Regions from separate parts of the Homo sapiens genome. Here region 2 is linked to region 1. The links are contacts of gene promoters, found by promoter capture Hi-C in blood cells and fetal thymus (Javierre and others, 2016). All regions are on one chromosome and are shown on one strand. Each heading gives the region's core, a stretch centred on a gene start or on the middle of the fragment in contact. The rest is flanking DNA. Distances are from core to core; before and after follow the strand shown.

Region 1 (5,416 bases), core at 1,663-4,162:
ACAATAAAAAGCCTCCTAGACCTTTTATATACAATCTCTCTATTTCATTGTCTATTGCATTGTTAGAAACGCCCTTCCTACCTGAATAGTGTTTTTTAGAACAGTAGCTGGGCAAAGAAGGATGTTTTCCAAACCTGCCTGATAAGAATCACTTGCTCTGATTATCAAAAATAATGGTTCCCAGCCCTCAACCAGAATTCACTTAAATAGATCTGTGCATTCCAAAAACACTTTTGGTGCCTATTTGTTTCCGTTACTAGGAAAGCAACTGAGGAAACATGAACAAATAACACGAGGTTTCCCAACCTTAAGGAGCCTTGTCTAGAGAAAGGTGATCAACATGTTCAAAACCACCACATGTGCTGGAATGAAGGCACGGGCAAAATGCTTGATGCTCCCACCGGGCAAGGAGCCAACGGATGATGGGCAGGAACTGACTGGGCCAAGGCAGGGGAGGTAATTGCTGCTGCCGCTAACACATATTAAATGCTGACTCTAGTGACAGATACTAGGCGGAGTGCTTTACAGACGTGATCACACTTAATTTTCACAATTGCTATTATCTCACTAATTCAGATGTGGCAAGCCCTTGGTTAAATTAATATTTTTCCCAAGAACGAGCAGCTGGAATGGGGCTCAGAACTCTCGTTCTGCACAGAGGAGGGTACAAGCCCCACCGTCGTGCCATCAGCAAGTCTTTCTTGTCCCTTCTCTGGACTTCACTATCAACAGCTCTGCTGTCTACCGCGTGAGGAACTCAAGATCTGAAGGAAAAAGGAGAAACTTCTTTCTGCAGAACAGTGTGCCTCTCAGAGCCCTTTTCTGAATTTCAAGCCCAAATCCATCATGCTAAAGGATTCTTCTTCATTTCTGCAAGCTGGCTGTATAACTCCTAAGCCACTAACTAAAAGTGAAGTCGACTGCTGGCAGAAATGCAGTTTCAAAGGCCTCCTAATTATTTACCAAACACAATTGTATAGTCGACACACACAATTCTCACTGAAGCAAAGTGGAATGATGCCTATTCATAAACTTTCCTTAATTGTACTCACAAGCGGCTCCATGACATTAGAAAAGATAAGATAGAATGAATACTTTTTAGGAGACTAAATTAGAACATGATTACCTCATTATGTCCAGATCTTGAATCCTGGTCCCCAGAATTTTTTTCCAGAAAACACTTCACTTTCTCCACCTCTTCCCTGCACTGAAAAAAGGCCATTTTCTCCAGCTGGTTGCTGTTATAACACGTGTTGAATTCTTCCAGCCTCTTCACTTTTAACATCTTAGTAGTGAGTCCGATTAAGCTACTTTCTGGAGTGTGGTTTTCGTCTCCCTCTGTCTCCGATTTATAAATCAGGACACAATTATGACTCTTCAGTGCTTCTTTCTCTTGACTGCAAAGAAAGGAAACACAAAAAGTTCTCATCACGTATTCATGCATTTGACTTCTTGAGAAAATGACCAGTGAGAATTTGGAAGTCCCTTCTGTTTAAACTGGAGAGAGGATCCAAAATCAGGAAAAGAAATACTAACATTCATATTGAGTTTCCAACATTGGAACTTTAAAAGGAAAAAAAATTTTTTCACTTTAAAACTACAAAAGCAAACAGTAAGAAGCAATGTCAAGATTCACTGGTGATGAAATATGCTCCTTATTGCACAAAACAAGCCGTAGATCAAGTGGCCAGCTTGGATGTAAATTATAAAGTATCTTTGGGTTTAATTGGAACCGCAGGTTTTGCAGCCCCGTGGGAAGGGCTTATCACAGAAGGGGTCTCTCTGCTTCCCCTGGCCTCCCTCTGCAGAGGGATCGCTCCCGAATGAGTCCTTTTCCAGAACTCTTCTCTACCTATGCCTTAAAATGTGTGGTGTTTATTTGTGAAAAGAAATTTATTTCCTTACAGTCTTCTCACGTGGACAGCACTCCCAGATACCTTTCCTTGCATCTGCATTAACAGCTATGTACCGAGAAGTTCAGAGTCTTTTCACTCTCCTTAAAATACTTTCCTCGCAAATGAAGTAATGCAGCATACATAATTCGCTTTGATACTAGAGACATATACGCATGTCTATATGTACACATCACTTGATTGCATAGAGAGGCAGGGAGAGGGAGAGACATTTGAATTTGTGCTAGTTCCGCATGGCTGACAACTGAGGCCCCCTGGTGGAGATTTTCCGAAAAGCGCCTCTTCGAGCATTTTCTCCGCTTAAAAACCGTATTGTGATTCTCATCAGAAAACTTAATATTTTGTTTTGTCAGTTCCTATAGTAAAATGATACTCTTGAGTTCCAAAGTGTTTAAAATTCACTGCTCTAACAAATTATACTTATCCACATAAAGAGCTTACATTCAAACAAATAAAAATGCAAATATTAATACTATCAACCAGAGCTCTACAGATATATTACAGATCATTCTTAGCATTCTTTCAAATTGCCCTGAAAAAATTATTAAAATAAGGAAACAAATGCATGGCTATTTCTAAGGCAAACTACGACTAAAATACTATGGTTAATTGCAGATGAAACTCAAGTTGGATCAGGAAGCCACACAAAATTAATGTATTAAAACAAAAGCTTAGGATTAAGATACAATAATTTTGCAAAGAAATATTAAACATTAAGCTCTACCTGAAGTTTGGTACAATTTGTTATTGAAGGTAACTTAGAAAAAAGGGGAGGAGATTTGAGAGGTTATAACAATAAACAAAGATAATTACCATTGATAGGATCACATCGAAGAGCTTGAGCCACTCCAAGTCTAGAGCATACATTCCAGAAGATAAAGAGAAATTTTGCAGAATTCAAACTGACTATGAAAGTCTCTGGTAAAAGTTTTGACTCTCAGTCGTATAAATCTTCTGAAAAGACAAGTGTCCACTACGAGAGGAAGTATCTTCTCTCTCAAATGCCACTTTCAGCCCCTGTTTAAATTAATATGGCTCTTGATCTCACGTTGCTCAGCTGTTGCCTTCTTAGTCAGATGGGGAAGAATATTAATTTTAGACACCAGGCTTTTCAAGGCCAATGGCTCCATTTCAGAGGTCAGGTAAGGAGAGGATGAACCGGGAACACTGGATGAAATATCACCTTCACCTTTCCCTCGTATCATTGTGTCAATACTCTCGGATTTACAAAGCTAGATTTGTCCTCGGCAATCATCTGCCTGGACCTTCTGCCCCTTTCAGACTCAGGATTATTTAAGTGCTCATTAAATTTCCCCCAGTAGGGAAAATGCCAGGTGTGGCAACCCCACAGCCACCTCTGTTTGCCCATCTTACGCTTTGAGCATATCCAACTGCAATATAGAAGATCTTCTGAAAGCAGTTAGCAAGTTTGTTTTATTTTTCTCAGTTCTTAAAGATGTTTGCAAAGTCTCCAACCATTTCTAGCTCTAGGGAAAGGTCAAAGGCACAGGCATCCAGGAAACAGGAATAAATTTTTCATAAATTCTCCTTAAGCAACACTAGGACTTCATCCGTAGTTTTCTGCACAGACCAAGAAAGGGGAATTTCAACCCACCTGCCCGACTCTCACAGTAGTGCATCCCTAGATTCACTGAAGTGGCATAAAACTTTGATTGCCCAGAGGCTGGACTTTGCAGTCTTGAAAACCCTGCAATTTTTCAGGGCCTGGCCAATTGTCACCTCTTATTTGGAGCCTGTGTTAGCCCCTCTATGCCCCATTCTAACACCAGCCTCTGCTGCTCTTCTGCTTCTTTTAAAAAAAAAACCTTATTTTTAATTCAGATCGATGCATTCCATGTGAAATAAAAATACATATTTTTCCATTTTATGTAGTATTAATGAATTACAGCAAAATCTTTTTTAAAACACAAAACGCTTGTTATTTTTCAGATTGGAGAGCTTTGTTCTTCAGCAAAAGTAATGAAGTGGAACTATAAATTTGTGGAGATAAATTATCTGACAAAAGTATTATACAAAGACTAAGCTGGTTTGAGGTTACCAATTTTGTTAGTATAATTAAATTGTGTAGAAGTACTGATAAGGCAACAAATGCCCTGCCAGAGGCAAGATGTGTGTGGGCTGCTGCTGATCCAACCACATCCTCCACCCGGACCACCACCACGCAAAAGCAGACTTCCTATCTCGTTGGCTCCAGCAAACCAACCACAGGCTTGAGTGAGCCAGAGGCCAGGAGAATCTGCTCCTTAGCTTATTTTTTTGTAATAAACTTTTCCTTTTAGAGTAGTTTTACATCTACAGAAAAGGTGCAAAGGTAGTTCAGAGTTCCCCTTGCCCTGCACCCCGAATCCTCTGTTTTTAACATCTTACGTTGGTATGGTATACTTGTCACAATTAATGAACCATGGTGAACGTTATTATTAACTAAACTCAATACTTTATTGTTGCTGGGTTTTTTTTTTCCCCAAATGCCCCTTTTCTGTTCCAGAATCCCATGCAGGATTCCACAGTACATTTAGAATCAGTAGGATTTATGATAGATTGGGTATGGGGTATGAAAGAAAGATGGTAGACACCTTTGCATATTTTCTTCTGAGCACTTGAAAGACAGAGTGAACATTAACTGAGATGGAGACGGCTGTGGGAAGGGCAACTCTGGAGGGAAAGGTCAGGCATGAAGTCTTTGGCAAGTCCATTAAACGTTCAAGTTGAATAGGCTGTGGAGATAGAAACTGGAGTTCCGGGGAGGGGTGTAGGCTGGAGATAAGAATTTGGAAGGCATCCACATATAGACATTTCCATGCACAATATACATTCAATACATATTTGATTAATGACTAGATAGAATGATCTTTAATTGTGTCTACTTGCCCTAAAAAGCAAGTCAATTAAAATAATCCATGCTAAAAGTGACTGATTGTCTGGTTCTGCTGCATCACACTGTTCCCAGCTTCCGATGGCATACAGGACAAGCACACTGCTGGCACAACCCTTGACCACAAAAAAACAGGTTATACATGCATACTCATTCTGGTCTATCAGCCTAGCCTCAGGATCCTAAGTCCATACCCATAAAATGTTCTGCATGCTTAAAGATGCTCTTATACCCGGAAAAATTCATTAGTGAGGAATATGAGCAGGCCCAGGAACACTTTTCCAGTATTTCCATATTTTGGAGTTATACTTCTCTAAAAAATACCAACATCAGGAAAACAGCACCCTACAGAGCCATGGAAAAGAATCCCTTGATTTTTTTCAAGGGACATTTCCATTAGCTGAGTAAGAGACTGTGTTGTCAAAGGAGCCACATGAAGAAACATCGTCGACAGCTCTTGTCTACGGGTTGGCATTGAAACCCGGCTGGATTACACTAAGAGTTTTTGTTTCTACACAGCGTTCTGAATGTTTCCAGAACAAGACCTCTTGAATGTTTACACACAAAAGCGGAGCAACAGTACAAATACCCAAATGCAAATAAAAAGCTA
Region 2 (5,416 bases), core at 1,061-3,560, 650 kb before region 1:
GTAGTCACGTAAACAAATGTAAAGCCATCATAAATTAAAATTGGTTATAAAATGCCAATAAAACATTGAAGTCCCCTATAATTCATACAAAATCTGTTTTTAGACTTTAAAAAGGGCATCAAAAACTATAAAGTGTATCATTTTTAAAAGCCCATTTAAAAATTATAAGCAAATTGAAAAAAATGTTATTAATTATCCAACATTTAATTATTCATGCAAAATATTTATAAAATATTGTCAAGGAAAATAAATGTTCTAGTGCTAATATGAAGAAAATTAATATGCTGGTTTTTAAAAAAAGTTTTAAAACAATATTCTTCAGTTAGTAAGCAACACAAATCACTTAGATTTGCCTGCTTGAGACACGATTCTTTTGAAACCAAGCAATTGAAGGAAATGGTGTTGCAATACTGTCCGTTTAATGAAAACCGTGGCAGTGAAAAGGTCACATAAATAATCTGCACGATGTTATTGCATTAAGAAAGTCACAGTCTAAATCTAATGCCTGCCAAAGAGGGGCTAAAAGTGTAAAAGAAAAAGTACGCAGTCACCTGCAAAACATATTATATTCTGATTAAAAGCTGTTTTTAAACAACCTTTTAATCTAAAACCCATTTGCTATCTCAAAAATGACCTATAAAGAAATGTTTATGTAATTGTGACTAATTCAATTATCTTACACCCTGGTTTTAAGAAATATATGATAATGAAAGTTCAACTTATAAAATTCCATTTAATTAAATTAAAAATTCACAAAATTGCAAGATTATGTGTTTAGACATCAGAATTTTCTTTGTCCTTGTTTTCAAACCGCCTACACTACTAAAAATATTAGGGTAACACAGATAATATCTGTGCATACAAACTGAAGTTAACACAGTAGACTGCTTAAAACAGAAAAACTACATACATATCTTCTTTTTCTACTGATATGACAGAGTATAACCAATTAATCATTAATAAGTAACAAGCAACAGCCAGAATATGTTTAATGCTTCATTAAAACAACATTGAGGCCCATTACAGTACACAGCGTACGATGCTGGAAACCACCTTATACCCTCGCAAACCGCATTCCCTTCTAACCTCATTTGGGGGAAGCAGCTAGAGGATGAATGGCAATATGCTCTCAAGTAAGCTTTTATTAAGTATGAGAAATAAATTATATTAAGTGTTATTTTTTGAACTCAGAAATGAGGGAAGGGGTTGTTAAGATATCAAATTTACTAAGAAAATAATTATGTCAGAAATAACGTTGCTGTCACAAGAGAGACTTGCCAGATACTGCTTTTAAGCACGTTGTTATACACACCTTTAGAATAAATTTTGTGACCCAGAGATTAGTCTGTGGTACTAAAATTCCTGAGAGTAGACCAGAAAAAAAATAGAGGGTAGGAGAAATGTTTTCCTAAACAATGTTAGCATTACTCTAGTGGCATTAAGAAGCCCTTATTTCGTTTATAATTAGTAAGATACTGAGGTGATGGGATTGTTAAGGACATGTTACAAATTGCTTTTCTACAACTCACTTCCGAATCTCAGTTTCTACTAAATATGATTCTACTTCATTAGATCCTCATGACTGTGATCTCACCAAATGCAATTCTAAAACTTGAAAATTACCTTGGAAATTTGTGAGAAGCCACAGAAAGGTCCTCGGAAGCACACACATATTAAATATTAATTATAATGATGACTGTCATCTTTTATAGTGATTATGTCATTATTTAGGAATGTTAATTAAGACATAAAATGACTTGTTAATAGCAAATGCATTCTTAAGCAATATATTTGTGCTTGTGCACTTAACAGCAAACCCAGTATGGGGACTGAACCATAATAGACTACAGTTCTATTTTCTAAAATGCTGACATTTGAGCAAACGTTCCCAGGGAATGTTTGCCTGATTCGTGGACTGACATTTCCTCTTTGTAACTTGCTTAACTAAAGAGGAGACATGCAGGCCAAACTCCACAGTGCCCGCAGGCAGCAGGCTATTGCTTGCCGCTGCAACTTGTGCGTGGTTTCTCTTTTACTTCCCTCTGGCCCTACTGCCCCTCAGCCCTTCACTGTCTCTTTATTTTGACATGCATATTATCTTAGCTGATTTCAATCATCTTACAGGAGTGGATGACATACCTTAAAAGATTAAGCTTCCCCACCTGGGATTTGTCCAGAAATTCAGTGTATTACAGCTTCTCAGAGCCTTCTTCGTTCTCCTATATTCTTGTGTTATCAATAGTAGCTTTCTTTCTTATTTTATGTTTAAGTATGAGACACAGGCAGCTATGCTGATGGAGTCAGTTTGTACTGTCACTCATCTTTCACTACAACTGCAAGGTTCACTTCCTTTGTCTAATTCTTTGCTGCCATCTATGTGTATAAAAGAGCACAACATTCTTAAACACACCAGAAACTTCCTCAGTTTCAAAAACAATCATGTCTCTAATCTAGAGGGATGAAGAAGGAAGCTTTAGGGATAATTTGCTTCCCTACACAAACGTAAAGCTTATTGGAAATTTCCATTTCTTTCTCTGTGAAGCAAATTTATAAAACTGAAAAATGACTGAAGTTACATTATTTAACATAATATTATTGAACATAACCAATAGATTTTTTCCATTATTGCTGCTGATAAATTTTAATTTGGCAAATTTGATGAACTTATGCTTGAAAAACAAAAGTTGAAATTTTAAGTCACTTAAGTAAATAATTCCAATAAGATAAATTAATTTTTGCTAAATTGCAATCTAAATATCTTGCCAAATGATAGAGTGAAATGATCACTAAACCTAACCGGGTGCGGTGGCTCACGCCTATAATCCCAGCACTTTGGGAGGCTGAGGCGGGCAGATCACAAAGTCAGGAGATCGAGACCATCCTGGCTAACATGGTGAAACCCCGTCTCTACCAAAAACACAAAAAATTAGCCAGGTGTGGTGGCAGGCACCTGTAGTCCCAGCGACTCGGGAGGCTGAGGCTGGAGAATGGCGTGAACCCGGGAGGCGGAGCTTGCAGTGAGCGGAGATCACGCCACTGCACTCCAGCCTGGGTGACAGAGCGAGACTCCGTCTCAAAAAAAAAAAAAAAAAAAAAAAGAAATGATCACTAAACCAAAACACTTTCCTAATATTTAATATAAAGCAAATGCAAAGCAAACAGATGAAAAAATTATTTACACACATTATGTAAACAACCAATAACTCAAATATTGTGACATAATAATCGACTAACTTCTGTCAAATATTCAAACACTTCTTCTCTAGGGAAGATGGAGAAATGTATCAGACCACACTAAAGAGCCTCTCAGCCTCCCCTTTAGGACTGACCATACTGGCTCTGAATTGTCCTAAGATAAGTTAGTGTCAAACAAACAAATAGAAAGGCACTCTAGTGTGAGCCATATGGGAATGTTACAACAAACAAAAAAACCCTGTCCCCTACACCATGTAACAATTAATCCATGCACTCAGGGTAAAGACTGGTTATTTACCATCAGTACTAATAATGTGGGTTGACAGTCTTGAAGAATGTCCTAAAAGGTTTATTTTGTCAATACCACTAATTTCTAAAAGACTTTACTGTTATATACTAAAAAAATAAAAACCTGGCACCAATGAAATATATGGAATGGGAGTAGAAAAGAAACTCAGGAACAGGTTTTTTTACCCTGATATACCAAACAGCATAAGAAGTGCGAAACTGCTGCCTCTTCTCTATCAGCTCCCATTTAGAATAACTGCATAATTGCTATCAACACAATACTCCTCTTCTCTGGCAAACATTTCACTTTAATTATCAACACTAGAACCGTACACAAGTTGAGCTAACCTTTCAGGGTGCAACATTTTCTAAAGAATCAGTCTCTTAACGATAAACTGTTAACGGAGCTGTAACATGCCAAACCAAGGCTTGATGTGCGGTTTCTTATAAATAAAGCAAATCTAAATTCGCTGTGGATTACACTTTAAATTAACATTTCCAAACTAGGAACATACTCTGCCATTTTTCAAAGAGTAAAAGTGATACCTACTAATCACTCATCTTCGATCTTAGACATTTTTCAAAAAATAGAAATCTGATACATTCAAACCATTTTCATATGATTTATTTCTTGCTGGCACTGGTAAGGTATCCAATTAATGATTTACAGTACAAAGTAGCAGAAAAAATTCTTACGCATTACATTTTTTGAACTAGAAAAGATTTCATTTTATTTTACCGTACTAACTTTAAGGATCCAACTTTAACAAGGCAAATTTTATAAACTCCGCCATATGTAAGGATAAAGTAGAAATCATATTTAATATCAAGCTTTACTATGTATTTTAAAAGAGGTATTAAGTCTAATTTTTTTAAATATACATACAAATTTTGGGGGCGGGGGAGATACATTATGGTATTAAACAAAGTATCATTTATGTCTTCACCTTAATTTATGTAAATTACATACTGTAATCTAATCAAGAATCCTGGCTGGGCAAGGTGGCTCATACCTGTAATCCTAGCACTTTGGGAGGCCAAGGCAGGTGGATCACCTGAGGTCAGGAGATGGAGACCGGCCTGGCCAACATGGTGAAACCCTGTCTCTACTAAAAATACAAAAATTAGCTGAGCGTGGTGGTGGGCACCTGTAATCACAGCTACTCGGGAGGCTGAGGCAGGAGAATTGCTTCAACTCAGGAGACAGAGATTGCAGTGAGCCAATATGGTGCCACTGCACTCCAGCCTGGGCGACAGAGCGAGACTCTGTCTCAAAAAAAGAAAAAAAAAAGGAAAAGTTTTACTCACAGTGTATTTACTAACTTACTCTTTACCCACCATTTTTATAAATAGCATCTAGAAATTAATATTGTGGTAAATATGTTCATTTAGCTATTTGTATTAATTTTAGCTTAATATATATAAAATAATGTTGCAATACTAAAATAATGCTACTCTGGATTTTATTTAGTAAACAAGCCACTATTTATAAACACATTAAGGGTGAAAAACCCAACAAGCATAGCTTTGTGTGGTCCACTAATTAATTATGAGCAAAATTCCAAACATTATTAGCTGTTATCAAAATTACAATACCACCTAGCTCTAATAAAACAGAACAATCTGTTTGAACAGGGAGAGGAGAACTTTCATAGAGTGTTCTCTCTCATATAAATTCTTAATGGACTATAAAGGACTTTTTAAGTGGTTTTAGATTTGAATTCAATTGCTCAAATCTACAACAGGCTTCCAAGAAGAATCTGAGCCAGATGACACACAGGCACCCACCAACAGCATACACTCCTGCCTACCCTGATGAATACAAAGTCAAACATGCTCAACTTCTTCCTAAGAACCATGGGAATAAACTAGTCATATTTACAATCGTGGTGTTTATTCATTATAAACCTAAACATGAAATTATAAAATGAAA

The links. Contacts are between HindIII fragments. The CHiCAGO score rates a contact against its expected background, and 5 or more counts as called.
Region 2: a contact is called between a fragment that was not itself captured here and the fragment with the promoter of MYLK4 in region 1, in 1 of 17 cell types (M1 macrophages). The highest score is 5.0, in M1 macrophages.

What each region holds. Positions count from the first base shown.
Region 1 is chr6:2,748,010-2,753,425 of GRCh38, forward strand. It overlaps MYLK4 (myosin light chain kinase family member 4), which reads right to left and starts at 2,913. Exons shown (of 13, transcript NM_001012418.5): 1 at 2,727-2,913; 2 at 1,127-1,397. The coding sequence starts at 1,285. RefSeq lists a silencer at 4,486-4,780. The HindIII fragment of the contact is 6,360 bases long and covers 2,582-5,416 here.
Region 2 is chr6:2,102,107-2,107,522 of GRCh38, forward strand. All of the region lies in intron 4 of GMDS (GDP-mannose 4,6-dehydratase), which reads right to left. Among named protein-coding and RNA genes, the nearest start is that of GMDS, 140 kb to the right of the region's middle. The HindIII fragment of the contact is 318 bases long and covers 2,152-2,469 here.